Linked DNA regions of Homo sapiens: region 2 is linked to region 1. The links are contacts of gene promoters, found by promoter capture Hi-C in blood cells and fetal thymus (Javierre and others, 2016). All regions are on one chromosome and are shown on one strand. Each heading gives the region's core, a stretch centred on a gene start or on the middle of the fragment in contact. The rest is flanking DNA. Distances are from core to core; before and after follow the strand shown.

Evidence for each region. Contacts are between HindIII fragments. The CHiCAGO score rates a contact against its expected background, and 5 or more counts as called.
Region 2: a contact is called between a fragment that was not itself captured here and the fragment with the promoter of FOXP1 in region 1, in 2 of 17 cell types (total B cells and naive B cells). The highest score is 6.3, in total B cells.

The regions. Positions count from the first base shown.
Region 1 is chr3:71,582,212-71,588,694 of GRCh38, reverse strand. It overlaps FOXP1 (forkhead box P1), which reads left to right and starts at 4,967. Exons shown (of 21, transcript NM_001349338.3): 1 at 4,967-5,124. FOXP1-DT (FOXP1 divergent transcript) reads right to left here and starts at 3,752. Exons shown (of 1, transcript NR_182289.1): 1 at 1,286-3,752. RefSeq lists an enhancer at 4,483-4,777 and a silencer at 4,855-5,094. The HindIII fragment of the contact is 2,384 bases long and covers 3,710-6,093 here.
Region 2 is chr3:71,360,359-71,366,841 of GRCh38, reverse strand. The region is part of intron 3 of FOXP1 (forkhead box P1); the gene reads left to right. Among named protein-coding and RNA genes, the nearest start is that of FOXP1-AS1, 74 kb to the right of the region's middle. The HindIII fragment of the contact is 5,034 bases long and covers 1,369-6,402 here.

The DNA of each region.
Region 1 (6,483 bases), core at 3,718-6,217:
ACCCATACTCCTTTTACATGTTTCCAAGGTACCAACGTTGCACTGGGAATGCTCAGGGCATTAGAACAGCTTTTTGGATTGATGATACTTGGCCAAATGCTTCACCGTACCTTGTAGTTTATGAGGATTACAGTCCACTGAGACCCATGTTCATACAGTACAGTCATGCACAACCTCTTTTCACAATCACCAATTTAGAAAAACATAAAAATATTTGCAGGCCATATTTATTTATGTTTATATAACTGCATACTTTAAAAAAAAGCAGCAAGTGCAGTCTTGGTAACTAAGGTCTCACTCTCCAGTTAGAAAAACAGAAAAAGCACTATTGTTTCTAGATTTAACTCTGAGCCTCTTAAGTTTTGTTGTGGGGGAAAACACTTTTTAAGCTAGGGTCATTCCCCGTTCCCTGACTAGCTTTTCCACCCACTCAAATTATCAAATGTGGTTTTGTCTCAGAGTGTGCCTGTTAATATTGTATACTTTAAAACAAGAGATCCCCTGCTGATTTCCGGTGTGGACATATAGGGACATGAGGACACAGAGGATGGGCTCCTCTTACCACTTACTGTGAAGCACATGATTTTCATTAGCCATTTTTATCTTCTTGGAAGGCAACTGAGTTTAAGCTTTCATTTAGAGAATGGTCTGCCCACGCTTACTAACCTCCCCTCTCTGAATCCACTTTTCTCTTCTCAACCCTCCCTTCTTTCTTTGCTGTGTTGACCCCCACCTGGATGTCTGTCACATCTATGGAGAGAGGGTGGAGAGAAAGGACGGTGAGCAGGGGGTTGAACTTGTTCTTGACCCTCTGTGGCCTCAGTTTCTCCCAGATCTGTAAAGGGGTCTGTAGGTTAGCTGTTTCTGAGAAGCTAGACAAACCACTTAAGTCTGAGGATTGGTCACTTTAGTGGAAAGAGTGAGATGGAAACCCACAAAGTCAGGACACCTGGATTCTAATCCTTGTCCAACCAGTAACCAAATTTATTTTGCCTTGGAGGGCAAATGAAATCCCTGGGCCTTAGATTCCTCATCTGTAATGCGATATTCTTAGTTATGCCCATGTTTTTTAAAGTGTAGGAACCTTGGCACTAGGATGGCATAACACTGAATCACACATTGAGAACTGTATTCCTTTCCGATCACTTTAAATCCTTCTGGTTGTTAAAAAAAAAAAAAAAAAAAAAACAGAAAAAAAGAGAGAGAAAAAACAAAAATTCAAAAATTTCCATTGATACTCTTGTCCTTAACCCTTCTCAACATTTGCCACTCTCCCTCCTTTTTTCAAAAATCATTTTTAATTTTTGTTTTGACCCTCAAAGAGAAATCAGTGACTTTGTTTTTACTGTGCTTGTTTTTAATTTATGGTGGGTGATACTGATTTCCCATTTAAGGCAGTAATAGAAAAAAATTAAAAGAAGGTTGATTTAAATGAAAATGTTTGCTACAATTACCATAATAAGTGGCCTCCAATGAGTATGGTATATTAATTATTCGGGAACTGTTATGTCATATAGATATGGCAAAAATCAGGACACCAGTAACTGTGGTTAAAGAAACACTAAATTAAGTGGTTTTAGTTTTTGTTCAACTCAAAACTTACAAGAGCATTCAGGTACGTCGTCAGGTGGTAAATGTCCACTCCAGTTTCTGTTCCCCAAATGTACATATATTTAGTGACATGGTATTTGGTGAATGAAGCTCATGTTTGGTGTATACAATCAACAGTAATGTGACAGGGGACTAACATATTCTGATACGTTTGGGAAAATTTTGGCTGCAGTTAACTATAATTTGCTAATTTTGCATTTACATTGGTTTTTTTTTTCTCCTGTTACTTAAAATATAACGAAATGGGGACAAGCACCTTTGCCTTGGTGTAATTAAAAATAAAATTATGTCAGGAACATCTGTTTTCAGAAGGGATTTCTATTTGTTTTATCACCAAAAGGTGGCGTCCTACCCCCATGCCCTTTATTTTAAAACCTTTCTTGCTTTAATTTAACAAAAAGAAACTTCCAGTTGATTACTGATAAAGAAATTAAAATCTGCCCCCCACGAATGTAACGTGACAGTGTTGAAAATGAACAATATGTTAAGCTGCAGTTAAGTTTCCCTCTAATGTAAACCAAATGGACATCGAGTTCTTTAATAAGGCAGCACAGCACATTAGACAGTATCATACAAAATTGAGTACAATATATCATGGGATTTACAACCAGGATTTCCTTTTGTCTGCAAAACTTGTTGCCAACCTGACTGTGGCCCCCACTTGCAAGTGAATGTAGAATTTAAGGCAGTTAAAATGCAGAATCAGATTAGCAGCAATCTAAAGATCTTTTTAGTATTGCGATGATAATAATTTTTAATAAACACACTGCTTAATCTGAAAAACAAGATCAGAGGATGAATTGTTCTTTACAGACTATGAATAGATCTGTTACATTTAAATAAGTCGTTATTCCCCTGAGTTATAATTCTACAGTCAGGCATATACCATAAACATGTTATATTTGGCATAAAGTACTTTAGAAATTAAAAACCATTTTTAATAGGTTGACCACTACAGAACCAGTAGACTGGCTACTTTGTAGATTTCCACTTAATTCCGTGTGAATTCAGCATATGGAATTTCCAGTGATGTCAAAGAGTTGTTGGCAGTATTAACTGAGTTGACATAAAGCTTTTAGTTCAGTGCCTAGATCATAGTATTTAATAAATGTTAGATGTTATTATTGACAGCTTAGACTGTGAGCTCCTCAAGGGCAGGAATTTTTATTTTTTCATCCCTCTGTGCCCACTCTGTGGTCTAGCACACAGTGGGTATGTCATTAATCCCTTTATGTCTTGACAAACAAGACGTCGAACCCTAGCCTCTAGGAAGCTAGGACATTCCATACAAACTAAAATGCATTTTATTGGTCTAGATTCTAGTCTAAAAGATTCAGTGAATAGTCTTATCTGGATAGCATGGAACTTTATGCAGCATGCATGCAATGTGAATTCTACCAGGCTGAAATTACCTTAGCAGCCTCCCTTTCTTTTATTCTGTAGCATCAGCGAATGGCTTTGTTATTTTTTTTTTTTAACTTGCGAAAGATACAATTTCAAAGCGATAGTCTTATGCCACCCTTGAAATTAAGATTTAAGTTCTTCTGTAAATTAATGTTTAACAATATTTGTAAAGGGGCATTACGCGAAAGAATTTAATAATAACCTTTTCAGGATATTATCTACAACTGTGCTGGTCTCAAGACCAAAGGGACAGTAAGCCTCTCCCCTCCCCGCAAGGGGAAGTACTTTGTAGGAATCCACAGGGGTGACTTTTAATATATTCTCATAAAGAATTGGCCTGGTGTACACCAGCCAGCCAGTAGCTGGAAATGCTGGTTTGGGAGTCTGGCCACTTCTGTGGTGGTGGGTCTGAAAAAATTTACTTCTGTTAACAACAACAACAACAACAACAACAAGACATAGAGGTCTTACAGCTTTCCAAGTCACGTTTTGGAAACACATACTCTGCTTCCTTCTCTATGCGTATTGATAAAAGTGAAAGAAATACTAGTGTCTTTTGTTTTATGTATGTATATTTCAAAACATTTAATTCAGGCTCTTAGTTTATTCCTTCGAATTTCTAAATTCAACCAAACTTCAAAAACCGCAAAAAGAAAAAAAAAAATCTCACCTTTTCAAAGAATTGGACAAAGCTTTTTGCACGTGACTGATCACTGGGAGAGCAGGTAATTTGTGTTAAACAACGGACTGACATGCTAGCCCCCAGGCGTTTTCCTAAGAGGAGTCGTGGCAAGAACACAGTTCCTGATGCAGCCACCTTCCCCCAAAGTGGACTCGATTGCACATTCCTGCAGTGGCTCTGACAAGGGGGCAGAAGCTCGTCCCACATTCACACTCTCCTGATTCCGAGAAACAGGGGAGAAAACCCCTCGCTGGCTGGCGGGGTTTCTGTTTCCTTGCAAACAGGGGTTTGTCCTTCTGCTGAACTTTCACCTCCCGAACTCGCCTTCTTTCATTGGACAAAGTGCAGAAAGAAAGAGGAGAGACCGAGGGAGGACGGGAGAGAGGGAGAAAGGGGGTTGAAAACACCACCTCCCACCCCGCTCTCCTTCAACTGTCACTGATGGCAAAACACTTTCACTTTTAACTGGAGGAAACTCACATTCTAGCCTGTCCTCTCCCCTCCCTTTCATATTTTTAGCTCAGAATCCAAGCAAATAGCCATCGCATTCCCATCTTCGTCCCTAGTTAACACTCTCCCTTCTCGTTTTTTCCGCTGTCTGAATGGGCCCCCCATTTCCCATCTCCTGAGGAATCTCCCCCTCCGCCCCCCTGCCCCTTATTTTCCAGGTCTTTCCTGCCAGATCCCTCTGTTGCCAGGGACTGCTCTGGCGTTCCCTTCCTCTCTCTGGTCCGCGGGGCTCTGCCTCCCTCTCCTCTTTCCAATCCTGCCTGGACGCCCCTCACTTCCCCCTCCCTGGATCCCTCCCCCCAACCCCCCCCCCCATTCTTTGGCAATTGCGATTTTTTTTTTCTGGGAGCCCGGTTGTTTACCCAGCAGGTGGATGTGACGTCAGGGACGCACAACAGCAAAAAATAACAACATCTCCCTCCGCGACGTGTTGGCCTCTCTCGCGCGCCTTATTTATTTATTTGTTCCGGGATGTCGGGGGGGAGGGGGGAGGGAGGAGGGGGGTGGGCGCCAGCGCCCCGGCGAACGGCAAAGAGGGAGCCGCTCCCGCTCGGGGGGCCGCTGGAGTGCCCAGCGGGGTGCGTGAAGCGGAGAGGGGACCCCTGCGGGAGGTAGAGGGTCGGGCCGGGGTGCGCCCCCGGGCCGGTGCTGCCCGCGCCTCTGCCGCCGCCGCCGCCGCCACCGGCGCTGGCTGGGCTCCGGGAAGCTAGTCCGGAGCGGAGGAATCTATTGTTATTTATTGTGTGGCGGTTGCACGCTGTACTCGCGGCGGCCCGGCCCTCGCCCGGGAGTGCGTGTGTGCGCGCGTGTGTGCGCGAGTGAGTGTGTGCGCGGGGTGCGCGCGCGGGCGGGAGTGGGCGCGCGCGGGGAAAGGCCCGAAAACACCTTAGTTTGCACCGAGAGACCATTTGCAGCGGGTGAGTTTGTATTTTTCCATTTCTGCTCCACTTTTTCCCAAGCCGCCTCCTGTCTTGTTTCCGCCACTTTAAACAACAACAACAACCAGCACAAAAAAAAAAAAAGAAAGAAAGAAAAAGAGAAAAAAAATGGAAAAAAAAAAACAACTACTTTCCACCTCCAGGCTCCACGTGCATCTCCCCCAGCCCTCCCCTCTCTTCCTCTCCCCCCCGGGTCGAGGCCCAGCTCTGGGATGGGTGGGGGCTGCGGGCCGGCGCGCGGGTGGAGGGAGCTCCGGCGGCGCCCGCACCCTTTGGGTTTATTTGCATAAGTCAAATGGGGGCGGGGGCGGTGGCGACTGTGAGGAGGCGAGATCGCCTGCCCGTAGGCCCCTTCACGCCTCTCTCTGCGCTCTCCACGATCGCCTAGGGGAGAGAAATCAATAAGCCCAGGCCGCCTGGCGCAACTTTCGATGTCCGGCGTTGGCGTCCGGTGGCCGCCCGGGCGCGGGGCCGGTGCGGGGTCCCGGGTCCTGGCCGCGGCGGGAGGGGGCGCGCGCCGGGCGCCTCCTAGGCCCAAAGTTTAGACTTGGAGCAAACTTTTCCCCTTCTTTCCCCGCGGGTGTGTGCCCCCTCGGTGCCCTTGAGCTGCCCCGCGGGCCCCAGCAAACTGACTGTGGTGCCTGGCCCTGGGCCCCGCACTGGGGAACTTCCCCGCTGCCACGCGCGCGTTACCCCGAGAGTCAGCGGCGAGGAAGCTCTCCCGCCACCCCCTCGGAGCCCGGAAAATTCAAACACGCACCTGCGCACCCCCAGCCAGACACGCACCCCTACGCGCGCTCGGCCTCCGCTTTCCCGAGACGAGTCCGCAACAGCCGTGGCCAGATCCACGGGTGGGTGCGGGAGCCGGATGCGCTGCGAGGAGTCGCCGCGCCCGGATCTCTCTCCCACCATCACACACATTTTCTGATTTTACCCCCCTCTGAAGCTTGGGGGACGGGGAGATTTCCCAAGCTCCGATTTGTCCTGCGTCGCGCGCGTGTCGCCTCGTCCCTCCGGCCCTGTCCTGGCGGCCGATGGCTCTCCGTCCCTCGCTTGCGCGCAGCCTTCCTCCCGAGCTCCCTGCGCTCTATTCCTGTCCCGCCGAGACGACTCCCTGGAGCCAGCGAGCCGAGGCGGCGTGCGCTTCGAGTGGGGACCACGGCGGTGGCGGCGGCGCCGGGAGCCGAGGAGTTTGCCAGTTGCCGCGGGGTCGCGGTCATTTGCTGCCTCCGCCTTCCCTCGCCCCCGCCTCCCGCCTCCCTCCTTTTCAGACAACGTCGCGCTCGGAAACTTAGATTCCTTCTTCTTTTTGGCCCTCGACGAGCCCCCCTCCCCACC
Region 2 (6,483 bases), core at 2,636-5,135, 220 kb after region 1:
AGAGGACTTTTAAAAAGTAAGGTGGTCTATTCAGTTGCTTTAAGGAATGTTAATTGAGTGCGTAAGATACCATAAACATTGTGTTTGGGGCATGAGAAATAACATGAATCTCTGCTCTCAAGACACTTCTAGTCTGGAAACAAGACAGTCAAAAGCCATTAATAAATGAGTAGAAATGTGCAAAATGTTTCTTCTTTTTTTAAAGTCAAAACCATTGTTTCAAATTGTATAACAGGTATTTTGGATATTACTTGGTTTTGGAAAATCTAGAGAATACAAAAAATTCTAAAGAAAAATCCTGACCGTAATCCCATTTCTCTAGGGCAAATACTGTTAATTTTATTTTTTTCTGTTCTTCATTGACACATATTTTTATACAGCTGAGAATTACTGTAGATACAATTTTCCTATCTTGCTTATTTTATATCACATTAACAAGCATTTGCACACATTTCCCCATTTTTAATGACTACAACCTATAAAATATGCCTTTGTCAGACTGGATTATCATTTACTTGCTTTTGTTCTGTTTTGATAGACATTTAAGATAAGACAGATTCATAAAATTTACCCATTTTATGTCTCAAATCATCTTTTACACTTAACTGTTATAATAAAACATTAATGGGGAACTGAGATTTAAAAAAAGATATCTCTCTGTATGTATGTCTCTGAGCTTTGCCATCCACAACGAAAAAAAAAGTGGACCAAGTCGTCATTACAATAATTGTACATCCTTGAGAGAATAGTGGGGGAATAATACATTTGACTCATTGTTTCTGGCATATTCTATCACTGGACATGTAGCTCCTACCCTGAAATTGGTTAAGAAGGAACATCTTGTTTTTTGTTTTGTTTTGTTTTGTTTTTAAAATGGAGTCTTGCCCTGTCGCCAGGCTGGAGTGCAGTGGGCTCACTGCAACCTCTGCCTCCCAGTTTCAAGCAATTCTCCTGCCTCAGCCTCCCTAGTAGCTGGGACTAGAGGCACACGCCACCACGCTCAGCTAATTTTTGTATTTTTAGTAGAGATGGGGTTTCACCGTGTTGGCCAGGCTGGTCTCCATCTCTTGACCTCGTGATCTGCCGGGCTTGGCCTCCCAAAGTGCTGGGATTATAGGCGTGAGCCACCGCACCCAGCCGGAACATCCTTTAAATCCAAGAAAGCAGTTTGCTTCTAATTTAGGGAATCTTCATGCCTGATTTTGAAACTTTTAGTGGATGTCATTTCTGTCTCACTCTTCCAGTGACATCTAAAATCTACTGTTTATTTTGCTTTTTTAAAAAAGGTCCAACATAAAGTCACTTTAAGGTGACTGTTACCTACACTATCTTAACACAGGGGCTTGACTGTATTGATGAGAAAAAGCTTCAGCTTTTTTTTTTTTTTTTTGGTTGTTGCAAGTATTCCTTGGATTTTTGTTCGGAATGGCATGGGATTCTAGTAAGCTGTCTATGTGGGCGCATGGGCCCTTGGAAAGGTGGCATGACTTAGGGGAAAGAACCAGGCATGGGGTGAGTGAGTGGAAGCTGAGCCTGCCAGCACTCATCTCTTAACCCTTTGGCAAATTAAGGCAACTACCCTTACCATCAGTAATCCATCCCTGGCAGTCAGATATCCTGAGTGAAAGTGCTGACCAGAGTCTATTTCACATTATTTTACATAGGACAAATTTTAATGTGTTATGTGTCAATGTGCAAAACCCTCAATCAATGTTCTGAAGCAGAAGTTGGCAAATCCAGCCCACTGCCAGTTTGTGTAAATAACGTTTTATTAGAACACAACAACACCCACTTGTTTACATGTGATTACTTTTCTACTGTAGTACCCAAGTAGTTGCAATAGAGAGCTGTGGCACCAGAGTCTAAAATATTCACTAAGTGTTCCTTTACAGAAAAAGTTTACCAACTCTTTTCTAAAATATGACTAAAAGATAGTAAAATATCTTATATATACACAGCTATCACGTTAAGGATGTAAAAATGTTTAAAACATTAATTAGTTAACAGTTAATATGATCTCAACATTTATTTTGTTTGAAATGTGACTTCTTTTTTAATCATGAAGAACATCTGAAACGCATCACTTTTGTGGCTGGGTTTTCAAAACCTCTAGGGAGGTATCTGATGTTCTACCAGTTGTACTGCAATGTGACACTTAACCTTCACCCATTTCGTTAAAAATGTTACATTAAATTTGAAGGATGTGATAGGATTTTTTCTTTTATAATAGCAGCAGACAAAACTGTTTTATTTAGAAATAAATAAAACATGTATTTTCTGTAAAGTTTGGATATTAAAAGCCAATTCAACAGCAACAACAAAAGGCATTCAACTAGGAAACTGTCAACTGGATCAATATTCTGTGGCATTTGGTTTTATTTCACTTCTTAGAAGCTCAGTATTCTTACCTGTAAAGTGGGAATCAAACTTCCTTACTGGGCTACGTGAAGGTTAAGTAAGTAAAACTATGTCTGACACATTTTGGGCATACATTAGCTGTTGGTTCCCTTTCCTTTTACTACCCTTAGCTTAGTTAGAGGAGCAAATAATGGTAACTATGAAATATTTTCAGAAAATGTTCCAAATTGACAGAGCTTCTGCTTACTTATGGTTACCTGGAGACCCAAGTAAAAGCCAGGGAGAAATTGGAAAGGTCCATGTATTTGGGTAAGAGATACTAGCAGCTGTAACCAACATTCCAGAATTTGAAATTTTTGAAATTAGCCGGGTGTGATGGCACGCGCCTGTAGTCCCAGCTGCTCGGGAGCTTAACTCAGTGCAGTTTAATGGGTGAGCACCTCCCACTGTTAGTGCTGGTTGAGGGGGACTGGAGCGGTGGTGGCTCTGCTCCATGTAGTCTTTCAGGGACCCAGGCGAATTCCATCCAGTGACTCCACTATCTCCAGGAACTAGGCATTCTCTACTGGATCTCTGCGCCCACGATCCAGGGAAGAAAGCAGTCATTAGGCAGGGTGCCAGAGGCTTCAGGATCTGAATGAAAGTAGTGTATACCCACTTCCATCTATTTGGTTAGAACTCAGTCACCAGGCCCCACCTAACTACAAGGGATGCTGGGAAATGCATTCCAGCTGTGTGTTCAGGAAAAAGAAATGGATTTGATGAACGTTTAGCTGGTCTTTGCCACAGACTGACCGCATTTTCTTGTATTATTATGGAGGACAAATGTTTACCATACATAAACTGCCCAGAGGTGCTGATAATCTGAGAACCTGTCTCCAACAAGTCCCCTGGGAAGGGCAGCATTTAAAGACAGTCGTGCTGGTTTGGAACAATTTATCTGCCTACTTGTTTAAATATATTTAAAAAATTAGCCTGCAGTCTGAATCTACTTCCCACATGTTGTGTGCCATTTAGGCATTTTGGCGTTCTAAAATGACAGATCTATCTCAGAGTGAGTAAGTTTAGGAATACATACTTAAGAAATGTTGCATGCAGTGACATTTTCCTTCCCAAAGTGATCTACGTGTACTCAAATTTATTTTGCTATTTTATAAAATAAGAAGTTGTACACAATATTGAGTAGAATTCTTTATCCGTGATGGCAGATAGAACATCTGTTGAAATACTACCACTGTTACTTATTTTGAATTGCACATTTTACAATGAATTATATCAGAATTATATCAATAAAAAATTGAAAAAATTTTCAATTTTTTAACACCTTTAATAGATCTAAACACACCTTTTTTTTTTAAAGTTATTCATTTACATCATGATTATATGAATATTTTAGGATTATAATCACCCTAAAATGAAGGACAAAATTTATCACACCAAAATAGAAATTTAATTTAAAGTACAAAGAACTTGATTACAAGGTTTAGTAGACTAGAAACAAGACATAAAAGAAGACATTAAAAAACACTTTTTAAGACACCCTCAGCAGTATAGTTTTACAGTAGATTTGGAAAAAATACAACAGCATTTATTAATGTTTGTGAAGATCATATTATAGACTAATCAAAGATCAAAGTTTGTAAGGTTCAAAAAACACACATAAGCAAATTTTGGTCATTTCCTGGAAAATACTAACTTTAAATATCTTCATTCAGGCTGGGCATGATGGCTTATGCCTGTAGTCCCAGCACTTTGGGAGACAAAGGCAGGCAGATTGCTTGAGGCCAGGAGTTTCAGACCAGCCTGGGCAGCACAGTGAGACACTGTCTCTACAAAAAATACAAAAATTAGCCAGACATAGTGACACCTGCCTGTAGTCTCAGCTACTTGGGAGGCTGAGGTGGGAGGATGGCTTGAGCCTGGGAGATTGAGGCTGCAAAGAGCAGAGATCATGCCACTGCACTGCAGCCTGAGCAACAGAGTGAGACCCTTTCTCAAAAAAGTAAATAATAGGGCTGGGCGCGGTGGCTCACGCCTATAATCCTGGCACTTTGGGAGGCTGAGGCAGGTGGATCACAAGGTCAGGAGATCCAGACCATCCTGGCTAACACGGCAAAACCCCGCCTCTACTAAAAATACAAAAAATTAGCTGGGCATTACAGTGGGCACCTGTAGTCCCAGGTGCTCGGGAGGCTGAGGCAGAAGAATTGCTTGAACCCAGGAGGTGGAGGTTGCAGTGAGCCGAGATCATACCATTGCACTCCAGCCTGGTGACAGAGCGAGACTCCATCTCAAAAATAAATAAATGAATAAATAATAAAACACAAATTTTCATTCAGTATCATACAGTTAGTGAAGTTTGTTTGAGATGGAAGCTGCTCTTGGCCATATTGTGATCCAGGGGCCTTAGTCAAAAGTCAGACTTGTCCACAGACATGTGTAATTAAAAATACTCCACTCACTTTTCTTGGTACTCCATGACATTTCCCACTACCTGTCACTTTGTCCTTGACGATATATGGGGCAGAAAACAAATTGCTTGGACGAGGTTGGTTTTCCAGTCAGCTGTTCCTTATTTTTCTCCGGTGCTTCTTTGTTATATTAGAGTTCAAATTTACTATTCATGAAACACATTTTAATCAGTGACCATATCAGACAAATGGAAGCTAAGCGCTGGTTAGTCTGTTGAAAATAAACATGAGGGCTCTCATTAATGTCGCTGTCTGAATAATTAGTTGAGCATCCAGTCCTGAGCAGCGGTGAAAGCAGACCGGCGTCTCACTGGAACGACAGGCTGACAGCCCTGTCTTGGAGAATGGTCATTAGTGTGCCCCGCCATCAATGTCATGTTACTGTGTCAAATTAGTTAGTGTCCCCTTAGGAGAGAAGCCGGACCTACAAATTATCCTCCCACATCCCTTGGAAACTGTGTTTGCCAAACCTGCAATCGAGTGTGAGCAAATTATTAACACGGCTCATAAATTAACTAGTTTACAGGCTTATAACATTTTACAAGTAGATAATAAAGGGGAGAAAAGTTTTCCAATTGCATTGCCCTGACGTGGGGCTGTGATCTGCCGACTGTTCCTTGAGGAGTCCACAGCTCATAGTTTTTTGTTAAGAGTCCAAACTCATGGGGTGTCAGAACAAATGTTTGGAAATGTAGAATCTAAAAGGCAGCCAGTGTAAATCCACTGAAAACAATATAATTAACTTCATTATCTCGTTGCTCTGATAAGTCGATGACAATGGTCATCTTTCTTTTAGTGGCAGTTGCTCATTAATGAGTTCACCAATTAAGTTTGAACGATTACAGCCTTTACCAACTGAAATTATCTTAAAAACATTTTTGATGCATTCTTATCATACTCTTAAGCTCCCTTGCTCAAGAGGGAAAATGCCCACACAGCACATTAAACTCATATAAGAATGAAGATTCAGAAGTCATGTGCAAAGAGTTTATGCACACTAGACACCAGATACCTAGAAAACATAGTGTGGACAAATCTGGCCTGAGTTTATCTCATATCTAGAAGAGACACCCACTGGGAACACCATCTCTTAACTCTCTTCTGAGTTCTGGTAGGCAGACAGCCCACATAGTTTCCGGAGACAGGTGACTATTCAAATCATAAAACTTCGTGCATCTCCTTTTTAGTTTCAACTTCTCCATCTGAGTAGGTTAAAAACATGTAAATTCACAAAGTATTGCCTGAATTTACTATTGAAAGAGAACACTGCACACAGACGTACATGTACGTGCCTTGAAAGCTCAGGCTTTCTACCCATTCTATAGTTCCATTTTTTTTTTTCTGTATTAGTGAGAGTCCTTTATTTAATCTTGAGGACCATATAGATGGCATTATTATCTCAAGGATCTATGCAGAAAAGACCCGGCATGTGAAACCTTGCTACTGACAGCTATTCGCAAAAACTTTCTGAAAGTGCTTGAGGATGAGTTGACTTATCTGTCAGCAACTTCAACTTACTTGGAATTGGATTTGGTAAATATTCTACTAATAACCTAACCAAGCGATGAAAGCTTTGCAGTCTCAGCACATGAACAGAGTGACTGTTTCCATGAGAAGGTGTGTCACAGTCTCCTTTTGCATTTGAAATGCAACT